4 separate regions of the Homo sapiens genome follow, and regions 1, 2 and 3 are each linked to region 4. The links are contacts of gene promoters, found by promoter capture Hi-C in blood cells and fetal thymus (Javierre and others, 2016). All regions are on one chromosome and are shown on one strand. Each heading gives the region's core, a stretch centred on a gene start or on the middle of the fragment in contact. The rest is flanking DNA. Distances are from core to core; before and after follow the strand shown.

Evidence for each region. The method cuts DNA at HindIII sites, captures the fragments that hold promoters and counts their contacts. A CHiCAGO score of 5 or more calls a contact.
Region 1: a contact is called between a fragment that was not itself captured here and the fragment with the promoter of PIK3CB in region 4, in 2 of 17 cell types (erythroblasts and M2 macrophages). The highest score is 5.8, in erythroblasts.
Region 2: a fragment that was not itself captured here is called in contact with the fragment with the promoter of PIK3CB in region 4 in 1 of 17 cell types (total CD8 T cells); the score reaches 5.0 in total CD8 T cells.
Region 3: a fragment that was not itself captured here is called in contact with the fragment with the promoter of PIK3CB in region 4 in 2 of 17 cell types (neutrophils and erythroblasts); the score reaches 10.1 in neutrophils.

The regions. Positions count from the first base shown.
Region 1 is chr3:138,597,671-138,604,504 of GRCh38, reverse strand. No RefSeq gene overlaps it. Among named protein-coding and RNA genes, the nearest start is that of CEP70, 6.8 kb to the right of the region's middle. The HindIII fragment of the contact is 5,178 bases long and covers 1-4,127 here.
Region 2 is chr3:138,626,872-138,633,357 of GRCh38, reverse strand. FAIM (Fas apoptotic inhibitory molecule) reads right to left here. Exons shown (of 6, transcript NM_001033031.2): 5 at 4,202-4,251; 6 at 1-428. The coding sequence ends at 279. Among named protein-coding and RNA genes, the nearest start is that of FAIM, 21 kb to the right of the region's middle. The HindIII fragment of the contact is 7,132 bases long and covers 572-6,486 here.
Region 3 is chr3:138,686,995-138,693,756 of GRCh38, reverse strand. PIK3CB (phosphatidylinositol-4,5-bisphosphate 3-kinase catalytic subunit beta) reads left to right here. Exons shown (of 24, transcript NM_006219.3): 15 at 2,614-2,757; 16 at 4,783-4,882. Among named protein-coding and RNA genes, the nearest start is that of FAIM, 82 kb to the right of the region's middle. The HindIII fragment of the contact is 5,124 bases long and covers 1-4,552 here.
Region 4 is chr3:138,830,137-138,836,971 of GRCh38, reverse strand. It overlaps PIK3CB (phosphatidylinositol-4,5-bisphosphate 3-kinase catalytic subunit beta), which reads left to right and starts at 2,044. Exons shown (of 24, transcript NM_006219.3): 1 at 2,044-2,277. RefSeq lists a silencer at 1,808-2,547. The HindIII fragment of the contact is 25,969 bases long and covers 1-6,835 here.

The DNA.
Region 1 (6,834 bases), core at 289-2,788, 230 kb after region 4:
TGGGGAGGCCTCAGAATCATGGCGAGAGGTGAAAGGGCACTTACATGGTGGCAACAAGAGAAAATGAGGAAGAAGCAAAAGCAGAAACCCCTGATAAACCCATCAGATCTTGTGAGACTTATTCACTATCATGAGAATAGCATGGGAAAGACCAGCCTCCATGATTCAATTACCTCCCCTTAGGTCCTTCCCACAACACATCAAAATTCTGGGAGACACGATTCAGTTGAGAGGTGAACGGGGACACAGATAAACCATATCATTCCACCCCTGGCACCTCCAAATCTTATGTCCTCACATTTCAAAGTCAATTATGCCTTCCCAACAGTTCCCCAAAGTCTTAATTAATTTCAGCATTAACCCAAAAGTCTAGTCCAAAGTCTCATCTGAGACAAGGCAGTCCCTTCCGCCTATGAGCCTGTAAAATCAAAAGCAAGCAGCCAAGCATGGTGACTCACACCTGTAATCCCAGCAGTTTGGGAGGCCAAGGTGGGTGGATCACCTGAGGTCAGGAGTTCGAGACCAGCCTGGCCAACATGGCGAAACCCTGTCTCTACTAAAAATACAAAAATCAGCCAGGCGTGGTGGGCGCCCATAGTCCCAGCTACTCTGGAAGCTGAGGCAGGAAAATCACTTGAACCTGGGAGGTGGAGGTTGTAGTGAGCTGAGATCACATCACTGCACTCCAGCCTGGGCAACAGAGCGAGACTCCATCTCAAAAAAAAAAAAAAACAAATTGACTGCCCTACTAGATTTCAGACTTGTATGGGCCCTGTAACGCCTTTGTTTTGGCCAATTTCTCCCATTTGGAATGGCTGTACTTACCCAATACCTGTACCGCCATCATTGTATCTAGGAAGTAACTAGCTTGCTTTTGACTTTTTTTTTTTTTTTTTTTGAGATGGAGTCTTGCCCTGTCACCCAGGCTGGAGTGCAATGGCATGATCTCGGCTCACTGTAATTTCCACCTCCTGGGTTCAAGCGATTCTCCCGCCCCAGCCTCCTGAGTAGCTGGGACTACAGGCACCCACCACCACGCCCAGCTAATTTTTGTATTTTTAGTAGAGACAGGGTTTCGCCATGTTGGCCAGGCTGGTCTCGAACTCCTGACCCCAGGTGATCCGCCCACCTCGGCCTCCGAAAGTGCTGGGATTACTGGTGTGAGCCACTGCACTCGGCCTGGGCCATCAAATTTTAAAGCTCCAAAATGATCTCCTTTGACTCCAGGTCTCACATCCAGGTCAGGCTGATGCAAAAGGTAGGTTCCCATGGTCTTGGGTAGCTCCACCCCTGTGGCTTTGCAGGTACGGCCTACCTCCCAGCTGCTTTCATGGCTGGCATTGAGTGCGACTTTCCAGGCTCATGGTGCAAGCTGTCAATGGATCTACCATTCTGGGGTCTGGAGGACAGTGGCCCTTTTCTCACAGCTCCACTAGGCAGTGCCCCAGTAGGGACCCTGTGTGGGGGCTCCCACCCCACATTTCCCTTCTGCACTGCCCTAGCAGAGGTTCTCCATGAGGGCCCCGTCCCTGCAGCAAACTTTTGCCTGGACATCCAGGCATTTCCATACATCTTCTGAAATCTAGGCGGGGGTTCCCAAACCTCACTTCTCGACTTCTGTGCACCCACAGGTGCAACACCATGTGGAAGCTGCTAAGGCTTGAGGCTTCCACCCTCTGAAGCCACAGCCCAAGCTCTATGTTGGCCTCTTTCAGCCATGGCTGGAGCAGCTGGGACACAGTGTACCAAGTCCCTAGGCTGCACACAGCATGGGGACCTTGGGCCCAGCCCATGAAACCACTTTTTCCTCCTGGGCCTCTGGGCCTGTGATGGGAGGGACTGTTGTGAAGGTCTCTGACATGGCCTGGAGACATTTTCCCCATGGTCTTGGGGATTAACATTAGGCTCCTTGCTACTTACGCAAATTTCCGCAGCTGGCTTGAATTTCTTCTCAGCAAATGGGCTTTTCTTTTCTGCTGCATCAGCAGGCTGCAAATTTTCTGAAATTTTATGCTCTGTTTCCCTTTTAAAGTGGAATGCTTTTAACAGCACCCAAGTGACATTTTGAATGCTTTGCTGCTTAGAAATTTCTCCCACCAGATACCCTAAATCATCTCTTTCAAGTTCAAAGTTCCACAAATTTCTAGGGCAGGGGCAAAATGCCACCAGTCTCTTTGCTAAAACATAACAAGAGTCACCTTTGCTCCAGTTCCCAACAAGTTCCTCATCTCCATCTGAGACCACCTCAGCGTGGACCCTATTGTTCATATCACTATCAGCATTTTTGTTGAAGCCATTCAACAAATTTCTAGGAGGTTCCAAACTTTCCCACATCCAAAGTGTTCCAACCTCTGCCTGTTACCCAGTTCCAAAGTCGCTTCCACATTTTCGGGTATCTTTTCAGCAACATCCCACTCTACTGGTACCAGTTTACTGTATTAGTTCATTTTCATGCCGCTGATAAAGACATACCCAAAACTGGGAACAAAAAGAGGTTTAACTGGACTTACAGTTCCACATGGCAGGGGAGGCCTCAGAATCATGGGGGGAGGCAAAAAGTACTTCTTACATGGCAACAGCAAGAGAAAATGAGGAAGAAGCAAAAGCAGAAACCCCTGATAAACCCATCAGATCTTGTGAGACTTATTCACCATCATGAGAATAGCACAGCAAAGACTGGTCTCCATGATTCAATTACCTCCCACTAGGTCCCTCCCACAACGTGTGGAAATTCTGGGAGATATACTTCAGTTGAGATTTGAATGGAGACACAGCCAAACCATATCAGGTAGGAATAGTAACTTATTACCTGACAGGCAGGACTGTTAATGGAGAGAAACAAAGTCTGAACAGAACATTGTTGAAGGTATTGAACATCAATATAAAATATACCTGTTCAGGCTGATCCTGCTTTTGAAGGTGATCTCACTCTCACATTGTTACCTTGTTTCCCAGGAAGTACCTAGATGCTGTTCTGACTTCATAAACTGCCTATCAGCAACATCCCCATAGACATCACTGATTTATTTTAAGAGAGCAGCTAAGGCTGGGTGCGGTGGCTCACGCCTGTAATCCCAGCACTTTGGGAGGCCGAGGTGGGTGGATCACCTGAGGTCAGGAGTTCGAGAACAGCCTGGCCAACATGGAGAAACCCCATCTCTACTAAAAATACAAAATTAGCCGGGCGTGGTGGCACATGCCTGTAATCCCAGCTACTCAGGAGGCTGAGGCAGGAGAATCGCTTGAACCCGGGGAGGCGGAGGTTGTGGTGAGCCGAGATTGCACCATTGCACTCTAGCCTGGGCAACAAGAGCAAAACTCCGTATCAAAAAATAAAAATAAAAAAAGAGAGCAGCTAAAAGCACTTTCATTCACAATAGTCCATGTTTTCATTGGTCCTTCTTTTGAAAAGGGAATTGTTAATGGATTGACTGATTTTCTTTCTTTCTCTCTCTCTCCCTTTCTCCCAACCTCCTCCTTCTCTTCTTCTTTTTCTTTCTTCTTTCTGCTTCCTTTCTTCTTCCCCTTTCCTTCTTTTTCTTTTCCTCCTCCCCCTCCTCCCTCCTTCTCCTCCTCCCCCTCCTCCCTCCTTCTCCTCCTTCTTTTTCCTTTCTTCTTCTTTTCTTCCTCTTCTTCACAGGCTATATTGCTCAGGCTAGTCTTGAATTCCTGGGCTCAAGCAATCCTTCTGCCTCTGCCTCCCGAGTAGTGGGACTGTAGGCATGCACCACCTCCCTTAGCTTGGTTGATTTTCTGAGCTTACTTTTTAAATAGCATGGAGACCAAAATAAAAAGGAAAAGTTAATCTGATATCTACAAATTTTAACATTTTCCATGTTCCCTTCCAGCATTGGTCTAGCATGACTGTTGGCTATGTGTTCAAGGAAGAGGCATTAGCACTTTAGAAACAAGCCCCAGGGCCCAGGATTCTGGCTTCTGCGCCCGCCTTAGAGGGTTGTGTGACAGAACCAGTGCCAGTAACCACAGTCTCCCAGTGCTGGCCAGGCTGCCGCTGCTTAGGCACTTCTTTCTCAGCACAAGGAGGCTGTGGCTGTCTCTACAAAAATACGGAAAGGGAACAAGCAGCCAAGTAAGGTGATTGTGTAGAACTTCAGACCAGAAAAGCTTGGACAATTTCAGGAGAAAATAGGTACTGGTCTGAGTTATCTGGAGACTGGAATTTATAGTACAGCCTTAATTAGAGCAAGAGGCAAAGGAAGGCAGTACAGACACGTGTTCCAATTGGTCAAGACCTTTTTTTTTTTGAGACAGAGTCTCATTCTATCACCCAGGCTGGAGTGCAGTGGTGTGATCTCGGCTCATTGCAACCTCAGCCTCCCAGGTTAAAGTGATTCTCCTGTCTCAGTCTCCCGAGTAGCTGGGATTACAGGCATGCACCACCACGCCAGGCTAATTTTCTTTTTTTTTTTTTTTTTTGAGACGGAGTCTCGCTGTCGCCCAAGCTGGAGTGCTATGGCGCGATCTCGGCTCACTGCAGGCTCCGCCCCCTGGGTTCACGCCATTCTCCTGCCTCAGGCTCCCAAGTAGCTGGGACTACAGGCGCCCACCACCTCGCCTGGCTAATTTTTTGTATTTTTAGTAGAGACGGGGTTTCACCATGTTAGCCAGGATGGTCTCGATCTCCTGACCTCGTGATCTTCCCGCCTCAGCCTCCCAAAGTGCTGGGATTACAGGCATGAGCCACCGCACCCGGCCATAATTTTTGTATTTTTAGTAGAAATGAGGTTTCACCATGTTGGCCAGGCTAGTCTTGAACTCCTGACCTCAAGTGATCTGCCTGCCTTGGCCTCCCAAGTGCTGGGATTACAGGTGTGAGCCACTGCACTGGGTCTGGTCAAGACTTTTAACATTTTTTATCTTGTTTGAGAAATTTTAAAGCTATAGAAAAATACAGAGAATAATACACATATTCCTGCCTCCCAGAATTGACCATCATTAAATATTGACTTAGTATTAAAATTTTAATAGAAGAAAATCCCAATACTATTACTCTTTTCTCCTTCCAAAAGGCCAACATTCCCTTGAGTTTGGTGTGTAGACTGTGTTAGACTTCCTAGTATAAATTATAGCCTTCATTAGCTGTTAAAACAGATCTTTTAATCTGTGTGTTCCTTCCAAGTCCACAGTCTATAATTTTATATACATGAATAAATGTTCTTGGGCATGATATTCTCCTGCTTTTAAAAATTATTTAAATGGGTTGGACACAGGGGCTCATGCCTGTAATCCCAGTGCTTTGGGAGGCTGAGATGGGAGGACTACTTGAGGCCGGGAGTTTGAGACCAGGCTGGGCAACACAGTGAGACCATGTCTCTGAAAGAAATATATAGCTTTAAATGGTACCATTAATGGCAACTGGGAATTTGTTTGACATTAAGAGAGGATTATAGGGAGCTCATCCTCTGGAATTCATATCACTTTCATCATTATATTTACTCAGTACTTATTGGTCATCTGTTACCTGGCAGGTGCTGTGGCAGGGAATACAACAGTGAACAACACTGATCATTTCTCCCACTCATGACACTTACATTCTAGTGGAGGAGGTAGTCACAAAAATATGTACAAATAAATTGTGGTAGCCATTCTTCAAGATGGGCCCCAGGGATCCCCACTTCATGGTATTCATCTCCTTGTGTAGTCCTCTCACATTTTACCACGGTTGGTCTATGTGACCAATAGCATATGGCAGAAGTAGTGATATGTAACTTCTGAGATTAGGTTATAAAAAAGACTGCGGTTTCTGTTTTAGTTGCTCACATGCTGTCTTTGGGCTGTGTACTCTGTGGGAAGCTGCCATGTTATGAGGACACTAAGGCAGCCTGGGGAAAGGCCCACTTGAGGAGGAATGAACTGAGGCTTGCCAATAGCCGCATGAGTGAGTTTGAATGTGAATCCTTTAGCCCCACCTGAACCTTGAGATGACAGTAGCCCAGACCAAAAGGTTGACTGAAACCCCATGAAAGATCTTGTCCAGACCATCCAGCTAAGCCCTACTGTATTCCTGACCCACAGAAACATTGTGATGATAAATGTTTATTTTAAGCTGCTATGTTTTAGGGTAATTTTTATGTACCAATAGATAACTAATACACAGACATTAGCAATAACTAATACACAGTAAATAATTGCAAATTGTAATAAATGCATATACCAATCTGATGGTAAAGCAGATGTCTGTCACAAGAAGTGGTATGGTCAAGTGGTTAATGACATAGGCTTTGGAGCCTGAATGCCTAGGTTCAGATCCTGGCTTTGCCATATACTAGTGTGTGACCGTGGCAAATCATTTCAAAATTTTTTTGGCTTCTATTTCCTAACTTGCTCATTTGTAAAACAGATAATAACAGTACTTATATTAAGGTTGTTGCGAAGATTCAACAAGTTAGAAAATGAAAGTGCTTAGCTCGGAGCCTAGCACATTTTAAGTGCCCAATTAACATAACTATTGTTATTCTGTATGGATTATTGAGCATTTGTCATTAATATATTTGCCTCAGCTGTTTGCATATTGTCCTTCACATTGGAAAATGACTACTGAAGGTGAATGCTCTGAATAAATTTGACTCAAATTTAACAATGTAGTTCTGAAAGAAGAGAAAGACCCTCTCATATTATTTTATATTGTTTTATACTCAGTACCTGTTTTAAGAAAAAACAACAAGGAAGTAAAACCAAAGACAGGCAGCCCGGCGCCTGGCCCGAAACCAGGCCTGGGCCTGCCTGGCCTAAACCCAGTAGTTAAAAATCAACTCATAACTTAGAAACCGATGTTATTCATAGATTCCAGACATTGTATAGAAGAACATTGTG
Region 2 (6,486 bases), core at 2,888-5,387, 210 kb after region 4:
TATAGTAAAGGTTACTGTTGTAAAACATTAGTGACTTTGGTCCATATCTTATTTGCCATTTGTCTTTAAAACATTTTACATTATTTGCATCATAAATTGTAATTTTTATGACTATACATAATTGGTTTTTTTCCTGACCCTTGGAATGTTAGTTTCATGTAACTTTTTAAAAAATTAAAACATTGCAGACTAAATGTACTGATAAGTACATACTGAACACATTTAATTACCACAGTAATTAAAAAGTCCTGATCTTTACTTCTTAAGATGAAAATTCATTAACTTGCAATCTCTGGGATTTCTCTATTATCCACAATGAGAGTATGAATAATCCCTTCTTTCCGCTTCCCACTACTGACAGCCTTTATGTAACAGTCATGGTTCCCGATACTGAAGTGAGTTTCAGTCCCATCATCTACAAACTCACCCTGGAGCAACAAAAGAAGAAGGAATTAGTGGTGCAGAAACTTTTATCTCTGTCTAGAGCATTCACACCATCTAAAAGTACTAGTAGTGCAATAAAATAATGTATTAGTTAAACAATAAGCTTTGAAAAACAAAGTCTAAAGCTTGTACTTAGATGCTTTTACATTTCTGTTATGAATTGAAAGTTTCCTTTTCATAACCCCTACAATCCTTAAGAATCTTAAATTCTTGGGGGAGGAATATAAACCTCATGACTATGTGTCTATGTTTTCAAAAATAAAAATGATAAATATGACATTTATTAGTTATTTATAATATACCTCAAGTGATCTACCCACCTTAGCCTCCCACAGTGCTGGGATTACAGGTGTGAGCCACTGCATCCAGCCAGGGATGGAGTGTTCTTAGCCACTCTGAAAATCTGATTCCTCTGGGTATAAGGTGGCTTACAGTAAAATATACATATAACAAAACCAAACACCACTAAATCTATACCTGTTCTGTTCAATACAGTAGCCACTGGCCACATGTGGCTATTGGGCACTTCAAATTGACTAGTCTGAAAATAGATATGCTGTTTAAATATAAAATAGACACTGGATTTAGAAGACCTAGTATGAAACAAAAAAATGTATAAAATAACTTTTTATACTGATTACATGTTAAATACTATTTTTGGTATATTGATTTAAATCAAATATAATATTTAACTTCACCTAAAATTTTTTCAAATATGGATACTAGATAAATTAAAATTACACATGAAGGTCCTATCTGTGCCTCATATTATGCTTTGATTGAGTAGCAGTGATCTAGAGTAAAAAGATTAGCGCCAGGTAGCGCAGAGAAGGAAGGAAGAAAGAAGAGGCTTAGAGGATAAAAAAAAGATTTATGCCAGAAAGCAAAGAAACCAAAAATCAGACTTAAACCCCCTGGCTATTAGCTTCCTGGCAGCCAAAGTAGATAGAACAAGGCCCCCCAGTTAACAAACCAAGCCAAAGAAGGCACAGGATGCCTCAGGGAGAGAAGCCTTTTCCTAGCTCTGGGAAGGATGTGGCCCGTGGCTCCTTATGGGAGGTATGCTGAATACCACAAGCATGTCCTTGGGTGCAGTGTGTTCTTGTCCCCATTTTTAATATTGAGCCTTGAAAAAAGACTTCGGAAGAAAGGGCAAGGGTTAGGTAATACAATCTATATACGTAGCTTCTTGGCAATTGGACAAATATATAATTTTGGCACGATGCTTTGAGATAAAAAGGAGAAAATAAGCTGTAACTCACAGGCAACAAGATGAGTTTGTTGTGGGTACGTACAGTACTGGGGAAGGCTGCCTAGATATGGGGCTGCCCAAACTGCCCTGCAAACTAGGTTGTAGTTACAATGAGAAGGCAACTGTGTTATAAAGAGCTATTTCCAAACACATGTAGTTTCCTGTTAATTACTACAAAACAAAGACATGTGGATGAATATTATTTTCACCTTTTTACAACCACAACAACATTCCTTGTGTATGTGTGTGACAGGGTCTTGCTCTTGCCACCCAGGCTGGAGTACAGGGGTACAACTGTAGTTCATTGCAGCCTTGAACTCCTGGGCTCAAGCAGTCCTCCTGCCTCAGCCTCCTGAGCAGCGGGGACCAGGTACACACCACCATACACAGCTAACTTAAAAAAAAAAATTTATAGAGATAGGGCCTCATCATGTTGCCCAGGATGGTCATGAGCTCCTGGCCTCAAATGATCCTCCCATCTTGGCCTCCCAAAGTTACAACTGCATTTTTTTTTTTTTTTTTGAGACAGGGTCTCACATTCTGTTACCGAGGCTGGAGTGCCGTGGTGCAACCTTGGCTCACTGCAGCCTCAATCTCCCTGGGCTCAGGTAATTCTTCCACCTCAGCCTCCTGAGTAGCTGGGACTATAGGCATGTGCCACCATGCTCTATTAATTTTTGTATTTTTAGTAGAGAGGGGTTTCGCCATGTCACCCAGACTAGTCTCTAACTCCTAGGTTCAAGCAATCTGCCCGCCTCAGCCTCCCAAAGTGCTGGGATTACATGCATGAGTCACCTCGCCCAGTACAACCATATTCTTAATACCATAAAACAGCATTCTCTTTACATGTGCACTGGAGAATTTCTTGAATATGGGAGGAAATGCAATTCAAAAGTGCTGATTCCCTATCTAGAGAATTCCAGGGTAGGAAAAAAAGAACAGGAAGAACCACCAGGTATGGCATTGGGCACACAGTAGGTATCTGATCCATGTTAGTGGTAACTGGAGTTTTTCCAAAGGGGGCCATAAAATACTGAAGCACTCTCCAAGCCTCTCTGCATAAAAGAAGTCTCTATCAGTAGATTTAACCCAGAGAACAGCTCAAGCACTCAATTTAGAGTGAGCCCAAATTAAATTCTTCAGGACTCAGAAACAGAAAAGCATTCATCTTCGTAACTTTTAAATTTCAATTGATTGATTAATTTTTTTAGAGATGGGTCTCACTATGTTGCTCAGGCTGGCCTAAAACTCCTAGGCTCAAGGGTCCCTCTCACGTCAGCCTCCCAAGTAGGAAGCCACTACAGACCTGTGCTACCACGTGTGGCTTCATCTTTGTAATTTTTGATTTCTGGTTTTGTCACCTCCTCAGAAACAGCTATCAGACCAAGTAGGTTCTAGGTGGTCTTCTGAATGAATTAATCCCAGACCTCCTTTCCTCCAACTACCAAAATCACCTTTTCTCACTGTCTTAAACCTATACTATACAAATGAGATAAAAGCAACTACAACATGCAAAATGTGACCAGAGAAGAGAGCTTCCGATTATCTCTAGCCCTGATGTTCACATCTGGAGCCAGCATGAAAGGTGGGTCCCAGGGATAGCACTCCCTGCTTGGCCCACAGACCCCATAAGACATGGGGATTACCACCCAGTGATTTCGGCTCCTAGTCCCACACTTTCTGTTTCCCACTCTCTCCCCTGTGCACACTACTACTGTTTCACTCCTGCTTGAAATTCACTCCTACATTCATCCCATCCACAGCCATAGTAATCCAAGCACCTGATAGCAAAAGTCAAACACACTGGAGTCTATCTAGATGGGGATTTCAGTGTGCCTGGCCACAGTGACTGGGGGAGCCTCTTTCTCCTCGCATTGGCACTGCTGGTCTAAAATTCCACTTGTCCTCCGGGGTTCGTGAGAGTGCCCTTTCCTGTTCGTCTACCTTCGTGTCATCTGATATTGTATCACTCATTTTACAAAAATCTCGCTTTCAGAAAAGAACCATCTGCTTTGAGTGTATGGTGTAAAGCATTCCTAAAGTGTGATCTGTGGACCAGTAGCATTAGCAGCACCTAGGGAAATGTTAGAATTAGCATTTTAACAAGATTCCAGGCAATTTCTGTGCATGCAAGTTTGAGAAGCAGTGATAACGCACCACTTCAAATGGATCAACACAAGAGGACACCAACCTCTGGGGATATAATTTTTTAACTAGGGGCTCTTTTTAGGTATTTTACTTGCTATGCTGGAGCCTGGTCCAGGACAGGAAAGGGAGAGTATGAAGCTAGTGCCAGCTAAGAACATGAGTTGTTTCCAAACTCACGGTACCAGGCACCATCTGGCAAAGGTTTTCAGAATCTGAAGTCAGGAGTACTTAATCCCTTTTTTGTTTTTATCAAGAGGGCCTTGATTCATTATAAGATCTCTATAATTAGGAAATGCAGCAACAATTCAATGGTAACTGAGACACATGGCACTTAGAGTCATCAAATAGTCAACTTACCGCTGTCTCCAATTTTTTACCATTGCACCATACGTCCATAGCATCTTTTTCTGTAAAGGTAACATAAAAACTTTAAGTTATAATTCTGTGATTTAAAGATAAAGTTAACTTTTCCTATTTATTACTTTAGGAAAGGATTGATATACCAGATCTCTAAAACTCCATTAATATTCCAAAACCCAACACTTTTTCATGGCTTTCATGGCTTGCAGACTCTCCTAAAATTTGAAGAAGCTGTGTTTGTTCTTTGTTCATAAAACTATAATGAAACAAAACAACCTTTTAAGAGAAAGTTATGGTCTTAATACAAATTGATGAAGCCTTATGAAACAAAATGAATCCAAAAGGACAATCTTTAAAGAAGGATGCATACAGGCCGGGCGCGGTGGCTCACGCCTGTAATCCCAGCACTTTGGGAGACTGAGGCAGGCGGATCACAAGGTCAGGAGATCGAGACCATCCTGGCTAATACGGTGAAACCCCATCTCTACTAAAAATACAATAATTAGCCGGGCATGGTGGTGGGTGCCTGTAGTCCCAGCTACTTGGGAGGCTGAGGCAGGAGAATGGCGTGAACCTGGGAGGTGGAGCTTGCAGTGAGCCGAGACCGCACCACTGCACTCTAGCCTGGGCAACAGAGAAAGACTCCATCTCAAAAATAAATAAATAAATAAATAAATAAATAAATAAAAAAGAAGGATGCATACAGATGAATGTGAGGAGGGACCCTTCCATACAAAATGCCCTTCAATATTGACCAGATGACTCCCCTGCCTCCCACACTCACCCAACTGGGTGATGGCACAAAAGACCACTGAAAGCAGCTGCCACGGGATTTATATAGGATAGACAGCATGTCCGCTTTAGAAATCTAGTCCAGCTTCTTACTAGGTAGTACAATAATGTCTATTCCTTTTCATAATGGTTTCAGTTTAGAGAAAAATTATTGGATTACAAGTAAAAAATAGGTATAGCTGGTGGACTGCACACTAAGGAACAATATGGAACAAAATGCTGCCCCGACACACTTAAATGGATCAGTTAACTTGCCATAGCTCATCTCAGGGTGGAGGAGTCCCCAGAGCCCCTTGCAAATGTTAGTGTCCTCAGGAGTAGCAGGAGAGAAGACTACACTAATCAAGAAGCCAGAAGTTGAGCTTTGGGTATTACAGTGAAGAAGAGAAGGAAGTATGGCCTGTATGTGCACAAGGAGTCTGGGGGTCAGGTTTGAGGCACCAGTCCAGGGTCTTACTGCCTGGCCATCTGCTCCAGGAGCACAGTCTAAAGGGGGTTCTTTCTCTCCCCATACCTTGAGATGGGAGCCTCACTTAGAGATGGGAGAAAAGCCTTTGAGGTGCGCTAGATGGAAAAAGAGAAAGCCAGAGGGGTCCAGGAGATATGGGCAGGGGTCACCTCAGTGGCAGCCTTCATAGAAAGCTGCTATAGTCACAGGTGCAGGTAAACTCAACTTGTCCCAAGACATGATCAGTGCACACAGTGCTATGATAAACCACGATGATGGTAGAAACTGGTATTTTACTTGCTATGCTTACTGAACATGTACGTGTACTCAGAGTTTCTACAATAGCGTATTAGCATGCCTCTGAAGAACACTACTAATCCAGAAGCCCTAAAAGAAAATGTATTAAATTTGACTACATAAAAGTACAAAAAAAGGCCAGGCACGGTGGCTCATGCCTGTAATCCCAGCACTTTGGGAAGCTGAGGCAGGCAAATCACAAGGTCAGGAGTTCAAGACCAGTCTGGCCAACATGGTGAAACCCCGTCTCTACTAAAAATACAAAAAATTAGCTGGACGTAGTGGCGGGCGCCTGTAATCCCAGCTACTCAGGAGGCTGAGGCAGGAGAATTGCTTGAACCCAGGAGGCAGAGGTTGCAGTGAGCCAAAATTGCACCACTGCACTCCAGCCTGGGCGACAGAGTGAGATCCTGTCTTGGGAAAAAAAAAAAAAAGTAAAAAAGCCACAGCACAATTGAAGAAAAATGCACACACATTAGCAAAGTCATGTAATAAATGACAAACTCTGAAAAAAATATGTCAAACTCACAGCATGAACAAAGGACTAAACTTACTAATGTGAAGACTATGAGAAATCAAGGAGAAAAAGACCAACAACCAAAAGAAAATGGGGCAAAGGGCATGAACAGGCATCATGAGAAAGGAAATACAAAAGAAACTTAAAACTAAGATGCTCAACCTCACTTATGAAAAAGACAAAAACAACCCTGAAATACCATTGCTTCACCTAGCAGAATGCCAAAAA
Region 3 (6,762 bases), core at 741-3,240, 140 kb after region 4:
AATGTGTCTTGCCATATGCATTAGTTTATATCATGCTTTTTAAAAATTTGGCCAGATGGCTGGGTGTGGTGGCTTATGCCTGTAATCCCTGCACTTTGGGAGGCTGAGGCAGGCAGATCACTTGAGGTCAGGAGTTTGAGACCAGCCTGGCCAACATGGTGAAACCCCATCTCTACTAAAAATACAAAAAATTAGCCAGGCGTGGTGGCCGGTGCCTGTAATCTCAGCTACTCAGGAGGCTGAGGCAGAAGAATCACTTGAACCCAGGAGGCAGAGGTTGCAGTGGGCAGAGATCGTACCACTGCACTCCAGCCTGGTTGACAGAGCGAGACTCCGTCTCCAAAAAAAAATAATAATAATTCAGCCAGCTGTGGTGGCTCACACCTATAATCCCATCACTTTGGGAGACAAACGCAGGCAGATCGATGAGCCCAGGAGTTTGAGACCAGCCTTGGCAACATGGTTAAGCCCCGTCTCTACCAAAAATACAGAGACATTAGCTGGGCGTGGAGGTGCGCACCTGTGGTCCCAGCTACTTGGGCGGCTGAGGTAGGAGGATCACTTGAGCCCTGGAGGCGGAGGTTGCAGGAGCTGAGATGGTGCCACTACACTCCAGCCTGGGTGACAGAGTGAGACCCTGTCTCAAAAAATAAAATACAAATACATAAATAAATAAAAATTCAACATCAGGTTTTTGAGGTTAGTCTCTCCCATTATGTTTAAATGTCATTTATTCCTTTCACTACTGTGTAATATTCTGTCATAGGGATATATCTTATTTAATTCATTCCCTATTAAGGAATATTTAAGTTTCTCCACATTTCCCTATTATAAATAATGCTTCAGTGAACATGTTTGTACAGTCTCCCTTGGATGGTGCATTTGTGAGAATCTATGAGATTCACTGAAGAAATGACTGTCTCAGACAATGAAGTTTATCCATTTTCTTTCTAGGTTCAAAAGTGAGGCTTATGTACTTTATGGTTTTTGAAACATAAAAGCCCACAAAATAGTGTGGATACTATGATCCTTTTTTCTTTTTAAAATCGTGTATGTTTTAAGCTGTGTAATAGCCAAAAGTAATTACACAGACTCACCAATAGTGCTTACTTCTGGGGAGTGAAATTAGAAATGTGAGAGAAGAGGAAACAGCTTCCTATTCCTATACTTTCTATTTTTTACACTATTTATAGGTTATATAGTGGGCATGAATTTTACAATAAACCTAATCAAAATTGTGTTATAGATAGTTTTAAAAAATGAATTCCCAGTTGCTTCACCATCTGCTTAAGTTTGCATTGGAGACCTGTTGTGGAGGGGCCACCTGGTTCTCCTTGGGCTGAGCCAAGTGTTTTTCTTAAACGCATTGATCCCTCTGAGGAGATGGCAGTGATCCGTGTATTCCGTGTAGCTAATTCTGGTGGTTTTTCTATTGTGAAATTTCTGGTTATGAGTTTTTGGTTTTGGTATATAGTGCCCTGGGTTTCAGTCCCAGATATCTGCCTTAGACTACTAATTCCTTAACCATTTATTACCCAATACTGTGGAGAGTAAGTGGAGCACTTGGGGCACTTGGGCTTCATACCTTATACTGCTGGAGTTGCCTCTGATAGGAGTGTGTTTACAGGTAGAATGGTTTGGAGATTGACACAAAATAGAGAACCACTAACCTTAATTAATTGAGCTCAGTTAATTACAATGTTATCTGTTATATTATTTCAATGATCAATTCCCACTTATAAATGTATTCACTTTCTCATCCTTCAAACTATTTGAAGTTAAGATTTTAATTGTACATTGGTTATCTGGGACAACTTAACCCTAATAACAGCAAAGGAAAATAAATTGTGAAAGTACTGATGGAATTTTTATTTTAAAAATGATTGTTTTACTAAGCACAAATTTTTTAGCATGATCAGAAATCAGTATTAAAGTACCTAATATTTTTGGTAACTCTTAGCTGACTGAAAATACAGTCATGAATTTTAACAATCTGTAGTAGTCCATTTTCACACCATTATAAAGAATTACCTGAGACTGGGTAATTTATAAAGGAAAGATGTTTAATTGACTCACAGTTCCACATGGCTAGGGAGGCCTCACAAAACTTAAAATTATGGTAGAAGGCGAAGGAGAAGCAAGTACCATCTTCACAAGGTGGCAGGAAAAGGGAAAGAGCAGGGGAAACCACCTCTTATGAAGCCATCAGATCTCATGAGAACTCACTCACTGTCATGAGACTAGCATGGAGGGCCACATTGATTCAGTCACCTCCCACCAGGATGCTCCTTTGACATGTGGGAATTATAGGGATTATAATTTGAGGTGAGATTTGAGTAGGGACAAAAGCCAGACCATATCACAATCTAATTCATTTGATTAAAATATCTCTAGTATCTGTTCTTTGACCCTCTTGACTCCCTTTTCCCCATCTGAAATCTTCAGCTTTTTTTGTGATATTGTAACAGTGGTACAGTGAAGGAAAGCATGTAACAAGCCTGGCCCAAAAGAACCATTGTGTTTCAACAAGTTCACATTTGATAGTTTGATACCAAGGGATCTTTTTCTGGCACAGGTTGTTTGGTTACTCACTGTGTCTTTTGTTTCTTTCAGTGATGAAGAACTTTCTCAATATCTTTTACAACTGGTGCAAGTGTTAAAATATGAGCCTTTTCTTGATTGTGCCCTCTCTAGATTCCTATTAGAAAGAGCACTTGGTAATCGGAGGATAGGGCAGTTTCTATTTTGGCATCTTAGGTAAGTCTTTTATATTTTACTTTGAGCCCACCAGGTGCTTTAGTAACTATAAACAAGCATAATATATTTAATAGAAAAATAGCTGCTTTAGTTTTTTTCTGAACCGTTTATAACATTTATATGGTTTTGGTGCCTTCTCCTGTTTCTTGATACCAGCACTCTTGATTTTTATGATTTGAGATTTGACAAAGTAATTCAGTTATCCAAGACCCTTATGTGTCCCTCCATGCCTGCTTGATTTCTTCATTTCTTCCTTCCTTTCTTTTTTTTTTTTTTGTGTGTGTTTTCTACCTGCTTGATTTTTAACTGAAATTAATAATGTATTGCTATTTTCCAGTAAAGTGTACTTATTGTCTTAATATATTTGGGCTCAATGCAGACCTATTTATTTCATCTAGAAAGTTGTGGGTGGTACTGTCATTACTAGTGTTATTGAGTGAAGGTAAAGGTATACTATAATGACAGCAATTTTATTCAATTTCTTTATTAAGTAGGTAATTTCCAGAAATACACGAACCTTACTTCACCAAGTTCATATAAGAGTAAAATCAGGAATGAGAACTAAAGTTATTCCTTTGTTTTCTAAGGAAATTGTATTAATAGATTTCTCATTTCTGACTCTGTACTCAGACATTTTTTTTCCCTCCCAATCTGGACTTCATAGTGCTGAAACTAATGCTTGTCAGAAAAAAAAACTACCTTTTTTCTTTCTTTCTCTCTTTCTCCTTCCTTCCTTTTCTTTTCTTTTTCTTCTTTTCTTCTTTTTTCTTTTCTTTGCTGAGCTTCTCAAAGGCAATAAGCTCTATAATGTTGTGCTCTTAATTTTAGTTTTATTTCTGAATATGGTTTTCTTATTCATATATTTTTTTCCACTCTTTTTTTTACTTTCTTGTGTTGTTCTAGAACCTTTTCTTATTTTTAACTTGTCTTTTCTCATTCATTCAGTCTTAGTTTTTAAACCTCTCAGGGAATAACAAAATAAGTATTCCTTCCTTTTTCAAATATGTACATCACTTTTTAAGTAAGAAAAAAATTGGAATAGATGCTAATCAGGGCATTAGTCAATTGTTTAATACCAGTCAGATTTCATAGATACCTGTTTCAGCCTATTGTCTTTAAATTGGTAAGATTGCCTTACCCGTACAAAAGCAAATCAGGTAAGATGTACACATTTTAGACTTCTTGGAATAAAGAATTAACTAATTATAGAATATCATAGCTTTTGAACTTTGAAGTATTAACTAACTATAGAATATCATAGCTTTTGAACTTTGAAGTATTAACTAATTATAGAATATCATAGCTTTTGAACTTTGAAGTATTAACTAATTATAGAATATCATAGCTTTTGAACTTTGAAGTTTAACAAATTGGAAAGTTGACCCATGTCACTAATAATTATGCACAAAGTAGCCAGGCGTGGTGGCTCATGCCTGTTCCCAGCACTTTGGGAGGCCAAGGTGGATGGATCACTTGAGGCCAGGAGTTTAGACCAGCCTGGCCACATGGCAAAACCCTGTCTCTACTAAAAATGCAAAATTAGCCAGGCATGGTGGCGCATGCCTATAATCCCAGCTACTCGGGAGGCTGAGGCAGGAGAATCGCAAGTATGAAGGGGCTGGCCACCCCATCCACATTCGAGCCAGAAATGGGGAGGGGAGGGAAGGGGAGGGACCAGCATTTCCTTCTAAGTCCAGGACTCATTTTTTGTGCACATCACTTCATCTTGCATCCTGTTGGCTAGAACCTAGTCACCTAGCGACATCTAGCTACACTTTTTTATTTTAGGCAAGCTTGAACCCGGTGGGTGGAGATTGCAGTGAGCCGAGATCACACCAGTGCACACCAGCCTGGGCAACAGAGTGAGACTCTCAAAAAAGGAAGGAAGGGAGGAAGGAAATAATAATGCACACAATGACCTTGCCATCATAAGTTTATTTTTTGTAGAATAAAGAAGTCAGTATTTATTCGGTGATCTGAAGTGTTTGATAAACAAACTGTTCAGATATCATTAACTTTCTGCAGGTCAGAAGTGCACATTCCTGCTGTCTCAGTACAATTTGGTGTCATCCTTGAAGCATACTGCCGGGGAAGTGTGGGGCACATGAAAGTGCTTTCTAAGCAGGTATCAGCTTGTTTTATTTATTCATTTTTTCTTTTTTTGACAGACAACGTTTAAAGCATGAATATCAGCTTGTTTTAATCTTCATGTTCAATTTGGTACTTGGTGTTTGATCAGTTTTATCAAATGCCATTTCTCCCACCACATTATTTCATAGAAGTCTCAGTAACAGACAACCTGATGAATACATTCTTTTGTCAAAATTTAAGTCAAAAAATGAAGTTTCAATGAACTTAGCACAAAAATATTAACTGAATGCTACCTGAAAAATAATTACTCGGCATTCCTAATATATTCTATATTAATCCCAAAGTGCTAAGAAATGCAGATGTGAACCACCACACCCAGCCCCACCCTTTTTTTTTTTTTTTTTTTTTGTGACAGAGTCTCGCTCTGTTGCCCAGGCTGGAGTGCAATGGCACTATCTTGGCTCACTGCGACCTCCGCCTCCCGGGTTCAAGCGATTCTCCTGCCTCAGCCTCCCGAGTAGCTGGGACTACAGGCATGCGCCACCATGCCCAGCTAATATTTTGTATTTTTAGTAGAGACAGGGTTTCACTGTGTTGGCCAAGCTGGTCTTGAACTCCTGACCTCGTGATCCGCCCGCCTCGGCCTCCCAAAGTGCTGGGATTACATGTGTGAGCCACCGTACCTGGCTGCCCCACCCTATTTTTATATCAGATTCCTAATTTCCAGTTAAACTACTCTTTTCTAATTCATTTGCATTGCCAGAAGAACTCTCATAGGCTTCCATTAGGTGTTTTTAATATTTAGGATTTTTCATGATGTTAAAAACTTTTTCTGATCCCTTACTTTTGAAAAGCCCATTAATGATTGTAATAATAGCTAATGTTTATTCATCACTTATTATGGGTCATTTATTCTTAACAACAACATGGAATCAATATTATTAATCCTCTGAATTTTATAGAACCCTGAAATATATCTCACATCTCTGCCTATTTCCCTTGTGTTCATGGCTACCATCCTAGTCCAAGCTACTATTCTTTTTCACTGGACTTCTTCATTAACTATCTAAATTGTACCCCGTGTTTCCCTTCCTACATCTCCCCCAACATTCTATACACAGAAGATAAAGTGACATTTTAAAAATGTAGACTGTGGCCAGATGCAGTGGCTCACACCTGAAAACCCAGCACTTTGAAAGGCTAAGGTGGGAGGATCACTTAAGCCCAGAAGTTTGAGACTAACCTGCACAACATAGTGAGACCCATCTCTAGAAAAAATTAGAAGGTGGCTTGCAACTGTAGTCCCAGCTACTTGAGAGGCCGAGGTGGGAGGATTGCTTGAGCCCAGGAATTTGAGGTTGCAGTGAGCTATGATTTGATTGTACCACTACACCCTAGCCTGGGCAACAGAGCAAGACCCTGTCTCAAAAAAAGAAGTAGATTGTATTACATCATTTCCCTTTTAAAATCCCTTCAATAATTTTTCATTGCACTATGAGTAAAATTCAAATTTTCTGCCAAAGCCTGTTAGGCCATACTTAGTCATAACTTGCTTATTGTCATCATATAACCATTTTCCACACTGCATATTTTCTGGGAGCCTCAGCTTGATGTTAAAGACAATAAAAGGATGATATATGTATGAACAAATTATTCTAACTCCTGTTTTTTTTTTTTTTTGATTGATGAATTGTGAGAGGAAGACTTTACCCTGTACATAGCTGTTCTTGTTATTACTATAAACTTACAAAAGGACAAGGTGTTGAAACACTTAAAGTATTAGACTTATGTCCATGGGGTATTCAGGACACTGTTCCAGGAAGTGTGGATATCAACACAATTAGAGATGGAGCATGAAAACTTTCAACTGTACAGACATGGAAGAAGTTTCAAATTTCACATACTTGTAAAAAG
Region 4 (6,835 bases), core at 795-3,294:
TAAAATTTCTGCCTCATTGGCCAGTAATCACATCACTTTTGGGAGGCTGAGGCGGGCAGATCACGAAGTCAAGAGATGGAGACCATCCCGGCCAACACAGGGAAATCCCGTCTCTACTAAAAAACAAAAAATTAGCCGGGCATGGTGGTGCGCGCCTGCAGTCCCAGCTACTTGGGAGGCTGAGGCAGGGGAATCCCTTGAATTCAGGAGGCGGAGGTTGCAGTGAGCCGAGATTGTGCCACTGTACTACAGCCTGACGACAGAGCAAGACTCCGTCTCAAAAAAAGAAAAAAAAAATTAGGCGTGTGTGGTGGCGGGTGCCTGTAATCCCAGCTACTCTGGAGGTTGAGGCAAGAGAACTGCTTGAACCTGGGAGGTGGAGGTTGCCATGAGCTGAGATGGTGCCACTGCACTCCAGCCTGGGCAACAGAATGAGACTGTCTCAAAAAAAAATTTTTTTTTCCTCTTAAGTTTCTGTTTTGTAAATTTTTATATTTTTTAATTCTTCTGGATTTTTTTTTTTTTTCCTAGACAGGGTCTTGCTCTATTTCCCGGGCTGGAGTGCAGTGGTGCTACCGTGCTATCTCGACTCACACCAGCCTCGACTTCCCTCGACTTCCTGGGTTCATATTATCCTCCCACCTCAGTCTCCCAAGTAGCTGGGACAACAGATGCACATCACCACACTCACGTCATTTTTGTCAGTCTCGCCATATTGCCCAGGCTAGGTGTGAACTCCTGGGCTCAAGTGATCTGCCCACCTCGGCCTCCCAAAGTGTTGGTATTACAGCCTCTTCTGGAATTTATTTTTCAATGTTCTTGCTTTAAATCGAAAGTCAATTAAAACCAGGATCATTGGCCGGGCACGGTGGCTCATGTCTGTAATCCCAGCCCTTTGGGAGGCCGAGGCGGGCTGATCACCTGAGGTCGGGAGTTCGAGACCAGCCTGACCAACGTGGAGAAACCCCGTCTCTACTAAAAATACAAAATTAGCCAGGCGTGGTGGCGCATGCCTGTAATCCTCAGGAAGGCTGAGGCAGGAGAATCGCTTGACCGGGGGACGCAGAGTTGCGGTGAGCCAAGATCGCGCCATTGCACTCCAGCCTGGGCAACAGTAGCGAAACTCTCATTCAAAATAAGTAAATAAATAAAAAATAAAAAAACTAGGATCATTTCTCAAATAAACTATTGGTTTGTCACTTAATTGATTTGTCACGTTTGCTTTTTATTATGTTGTACTTCTAGATTTTATCCCTGACTACTCAACTATTTGTCCAGGGTAATATAGGAGCATTACGTTAGAATATACTAGCTTTGGAGTGAGTTAAAATGTTGGTTTTCAGTAAGTAAAATTTAAGTGTCCCACTAGAAAGAGGACTGTGATTTTTCGCGGTTGGGGTCAAAGGTAACAGGAAACAAGGTAGGCAAAAAGGGGTAAAGTTTAAGGCTCTGCAGACAAATGTTAGGTGTTGTTACTGCAAAATTGAACAAAGAACAAGAATCTTGGGCTTGAAAGCCTGGACTTTTCCCTAGAAACAACCATTCACAGTGTAGGGACTGAAGGGCCAGCTGTGAGGCAGCCGAGCTAGCGCCCTATCCTCACAAAGGGAGTGAAAGACGGAGACGGGTATCGGGAAAAAAATAAGTGCTGCGTCCAAGAATTTAGGAGTCAGTCCATGTCGCAGAACAGGGAGAAGGGCTGGGAAGAAAAGGCCAGCAAGGAACCTAGGAAGAGCGGAATCTCTCGGGAGGAGGTTATGGAGGCCGCAGCGGGTGATGGGTCTCTCCTGAAGGCGACTTGCCGGGGATTCCCTATTCCGCAGTCCTCTGGGAGTCGCAAAGAGAGTTAGGAAAGGCCGTGCAGCAGCGTCGCAGCCGGGCTGGCAACGGTAGAGGAATCGGCAGTGAGGCCTCTCCCCACACCCTGCCAGCCCAACTGCCGCCGCCGCCGCCGCCGCCACCGCGGGGCCCGGGATTGGCCCGAGGGCGGCGCAGGGCGGGGCGGGGGCTGCTGGGATGCAGGCCTGAGAGGCTGGCGCGCGCGCACACGGGCGCGGGTTCGGCGGCGGCGCGCGCGTGCTCTGTCGGCCTGTGCGGCGCTGCGGCGGAGCGGGCCATGGCAGTGGGGAGGGGGCGAGTGTAGTGCTGCGCGGGGCAGGCGGGAGGTGATCGAGAGAGGCAGGGATGGGGGCGCCGGAGTGGAGCGGTTGCGGCGGCCTGGGCTGCTGACTGCGCACTTGGAATAGTAGCAGGCGGCGGCGGCGGAACGCCAGGCAGGTGAGTGCGGCGGCCGGGACCCGGATGCGGCGCGGCTGAGGGGCGGCTGGGTCGCGGCGCCGGCTGCGGTGCCCCCGGGCGTGCTGGCGGTGCGTTCTAGCTTGCCGCTACCTGCGGCGCTGGCGACTCTTGTGGTTGCACCGCGCTTCCTGCCAGCTTGGAGGATAACCGCCTACCGGCCGGTGGGGGCGTCTGGCTTGGTTGCGGCCCGCCCTGGGCTCTCCAAGGTGAGTGGCGCCCCCCGGCCCCTGGGCGGCAGAGACGCTGCCGGGCGTCCCGGGTCACTGTCGCTTTGGGTCCCGTTCCTGAGGGGCGTTTCTGTGGAGAGACGGCGTACTCGCGCCCCGCGTCTATGCGGACACCTCCGGAACTTCCCGACCCTCAGGTGCCTTTTTGCGCAGAAGTGTATTTCAGAGGCGTGGACCCAGGGTTATTAGGTTATGGACATGTTTTCGAATCCCAACGCCGCTGCTGACCAGTCCTGGGGCCTTGGGCCAAAATATCCTGATGTGTTAAATGGAAATAATAATACATACACCATAAGGTTGTTGTGAGGTTAGGCATAACTGAACAAGTGCTAAGTAAATGATACCCCTGCTGCAGCATCTCGTGTTAGCTATTGCTAATTCCTGGCTGCTGGCGTGCGTTTGGGGGCACATTTATTTCCGATCTGCTCTGGTGTTGCAGTAACCGATACTGGAGTTGCTTAATATTGGAGCCTGTTAACCTCGCAGTGGCCAAAATAGAATCCTATAGTCCCTTACTAGAATCCTGCAGTCTCTTCCCGCAGGGCTGAATTGGAACCCTGTCTCAGGTACTGAGTGGGAATTACTGCTGAAATGAAACCGAGCAAATTCGGGATTCGCTTAGGATGAAAGATGGTGGGACGTAAACTTGAAGTGCTTTGCTGTTTCATCTCAAGTGACACTTGAACTCTGCCACTTGTTACAGAGTTATAAACACACGAAGAGTATGGAAACAGACTCTTTTTTCTGCATTGCTACATCCAAAGGGAGTGACAAGTGCTTTTGTAAACATCATTGTGGGCAGTGTGACTGTCTGGTGAAGTCATGATAATTAAATGAGTACTTATTTTGAAGCACTGAATGGAAGTTTGGAGATATGATTCGTAATAAAATTGTCTCCAACGAGTCAGAGGTCTCAGCAGTTCATTAATCATTTGGGGATTTTTATGCTACATTGTAAGATTTTATGGTAAAAGCAGAACTGTTTAAGTCATAATAATGTAGCACAGGAAAGGGTGGTCAGATAAGGATCTTAACCCAGTTTCAGAATGCAGGTATGGAAGAAAGTAAAGTCTTTTTTCTGACCAGGTGCGTTGGCTCACGCCTGTAATCCCAGCACTTTGGGAGGCCGAGGCGGGCGGATCAATTGATTCCAGGAGTTCGACACCAGCCCAAGCAACATGGTGAAACCCCGTCTCTACCAAAAACACAAAAATTAGCAGGGCGTGGTGGCGGGCGCTTGTAATCCCAGCTACTTGGGAGGCTGAGGCAGGAGAATCCCTTGAACCCGGGAGGCGGAGGTTGCAGTGAGCCGAGATGGCACCACTGGACTCCAGCCTGGGCAACAGAGGGATACCCTGTCTCAAAAAGAAAAAAAAAAAATCTTTTTGAGACCGAATCTTGCTTCTTTTTTAAAAAAAAATTATTGTTGTTTTTTGAGGCAGGGTCTCGGTCTGTCGCCCAGGCTGGAGTGCAATGTCGCCATCTTGGCTCACTGCAACCTCCGCCTCCTGGGTTCAAGCGATCCTCCTGCCTCAGGCTCCCTAGTGGCTGAGACTACAGGGGCGTGCCACCACGCCTGGCCAATCTTTCAATTTTGTTTTTTTTTTTTTTTTTTTGAGACGGAGTTTCGCTTTTGTTGTCCAGGCTGGAGTGCAATGACGCGATCTCCAGCTCACCGCAACCTCCGCCTCCCGGGTTCAAGCGATTCTCCTGCCATAGCCTCCCGAGTAGTTGGGATTACAGGCATGTGCCACCACACGCGGCTAATTTTGTACTTTTTTTGGTAGAGACGGGGTTTCTCCATGTTGGTCAGGGTGGTCTCGGACTCCCAACCTCAGGTATCCGCCCGCCTCGGCCTCCCAAACTGCTGGGATTACAGGAGGAAGCCACCGCGCCCGGCCCAATCTTTGTATTTTTGGTAGAGAGGTGGTTTTGCCATGTTGGCCAGGCTGGTCTTGATCTCCTGGGCTCAAATGATCCGCCAGCCTGGGCCTCCCAAAATGCTGGGATTACAGGCATGAACCACCGCGACCGGCCGAAAGTAAAAATCTTAAAGGTTTAAACTGGAATTGTATTCACTAAAGCCAAAATGACTTAAGAAGCAAAAATCTAATTTACACCCCTGATTCACACCCTGAGTCCACCACCTTCGGAGTGTTTTTTAGAAGTGTTGAAAATCAAGTCGGGTTTTGATTTGTCATTTTGCACCTCTTGCCTATCTTTCTTGGTGTTCTTAAAGACTCATCCATAAAGGCTTTTGCTTCAACTTGCTTTGTGAATGTCAGCCAACTATATGGAAAAAAGTGAAAAATGAACACTGTAGTCTAAATTATGTTCTTTCTTGAGGTTTTCCCAGTTGTCTAGCTTAGACTGTTGAACTCAACAGTAGAACTACTGCTAGCCACTGTGAAAAGGCTGGGAGTCAGAAGTCACCTCTTGGTTTTAGGCCTCAACCTGGGTAAAAACAGCTGGGGCTATGGGGATGTTACCCAGTCTTATGGGCCTCTGTTTTGTTTGTTTGTTTGTTTTGAGATGGAGTCTCTCTCTGTCGCCAGGCTGGAGTGCAATGGCACGATCTCTGCTCACTGTGACCTCCCGGGTTCAAGCGATTCTCCTGCCTCAGCCTCCAAATTAGTTGGGACTACAGGTGCACACCACCATGCCCCGCTAATTTTTGTATTTTTAGTAAACATGGGGTTTCACCATATTGGCCAGGATGGTCTCAGTCTTTTGACCTCGTGTTCCTCCCGCCTTGGCCTCCCAAAGTGCTGGGATTACAGGCGTCAGCCACTGTGCCTGGCCCCAATAAATAAATTATTTATTTTTATTTTTTATTTTGTTTTTATTTATTTACTTATTTAGAGACTGAGTTTTGCCCTTGTTGCCCAGGCTGGAGTGCAATGTGCAATCTTGGCTCACTGCAACCTCCGCCTCCCCGGTTCAAACAATTCTTCTGCCTCAGCCTCCCAAGTAGCTGGGATTACAGGCACCCGCCACCACGCCCAGCTAATTTTTTGTATTTTTAGGGGTTTCTCCATGTTGGCCAGGCTGGTCTTGAACTCCTGACCTCAGGTGATCTGGCCGCCTCGGCCTCCCAAAGTGCTGGGATTACAGGCGTGAGCCACTGCGCCTAGCACTATTTTTAATTTTAATTTAATTTAATTTTATTTTATTTTATTTTATTTATTTGAGACGGAGTCTCACTCTGTTGCCCAGCCTGGAGTTCACACCTCCTGGGTTCACGCCGTTCTCCTGTCTCAGCCTCCCCAGTAGCTGGGACCATAGGTGCCCGCCACCACGCCTGGCTAATTTTTTGTATTTTTTTTTTAGTAGAGACGGGGTTTCACCGTGTTAGTCAGGGCGGTCTTGATCTCCTGACCTCGTGATCCGCCCGCCTTGGCCTCCCAAAGTGCTGGGACTCCAGGCGGGAGCCACCGCGCCTTGCCCCCAATAAATAAATAAAATACTTAACTGAGGAAAGTGAGTTCCTGCTTTATTATTATTATTATTATTATTATTATTATTATTATTATTATTATTATTTTGAGACGGAGTTTCGCTCTGTTGCCCAGGCTAGAGTGCAGTGGTGCGATCTCGGCTTACCGCAAGCTCCGCCTCCCGGGTTCACGCCATTCTCCTGCCTCAGCCTCCCAAGTAGCTGGGACTACAGGCGCCAGCCAACACGCCCGGCTAATTTTTTTGTGTGTTTTTAGTAGAGACAGGGTTTCACCGTGTTCACCAGGATGGTCTCGATCTCCTGACCTCGTGATCCGCCCATCTCGGCCTCCCAAAGTGCTGGGATTACAGGCGTCATCCACTCCGGCCCCTGCTTTATTATTTGTGTATTCTCTTGGACTTGTTCCTTTTGATTTTTTGTTTTGTTTTGTTTTGTTTGAGACGGAGTCGTGCTCTGCCGTTCAGGCTGGAGTGCGGTGGCGCCATCTTGGCTCGCTGCAACCTCCGCCTCCCGGGTTCAAGGAATTATCCTGCCTCAGCCTCCCGAGTAGCTGGGATTACAAGGCGTGCGCTACCACGCCTGGCTAGTTTTTTTGTATTTTTAGTAGAGACAGGGTTTCACCATATTGGCCAGACTGGTCTAGAACTCCTAACCTCAGGTGATCCGCCCACCTCGTCCTTCCAAAGTGCTGGGATTACAGAGGTGAGCCACCGCGCCTGGGCCCCTTTTTTTATTTATAGAATTTGGCTTACCGTGGTGGGCAGGGGGTGGTTGTGGTGGTGTACTAGAAAATCACATTATGTAAAGGAACCTTCTAGGATATTCGAGTTTTATGGCTTTCCTCCTCTTCACT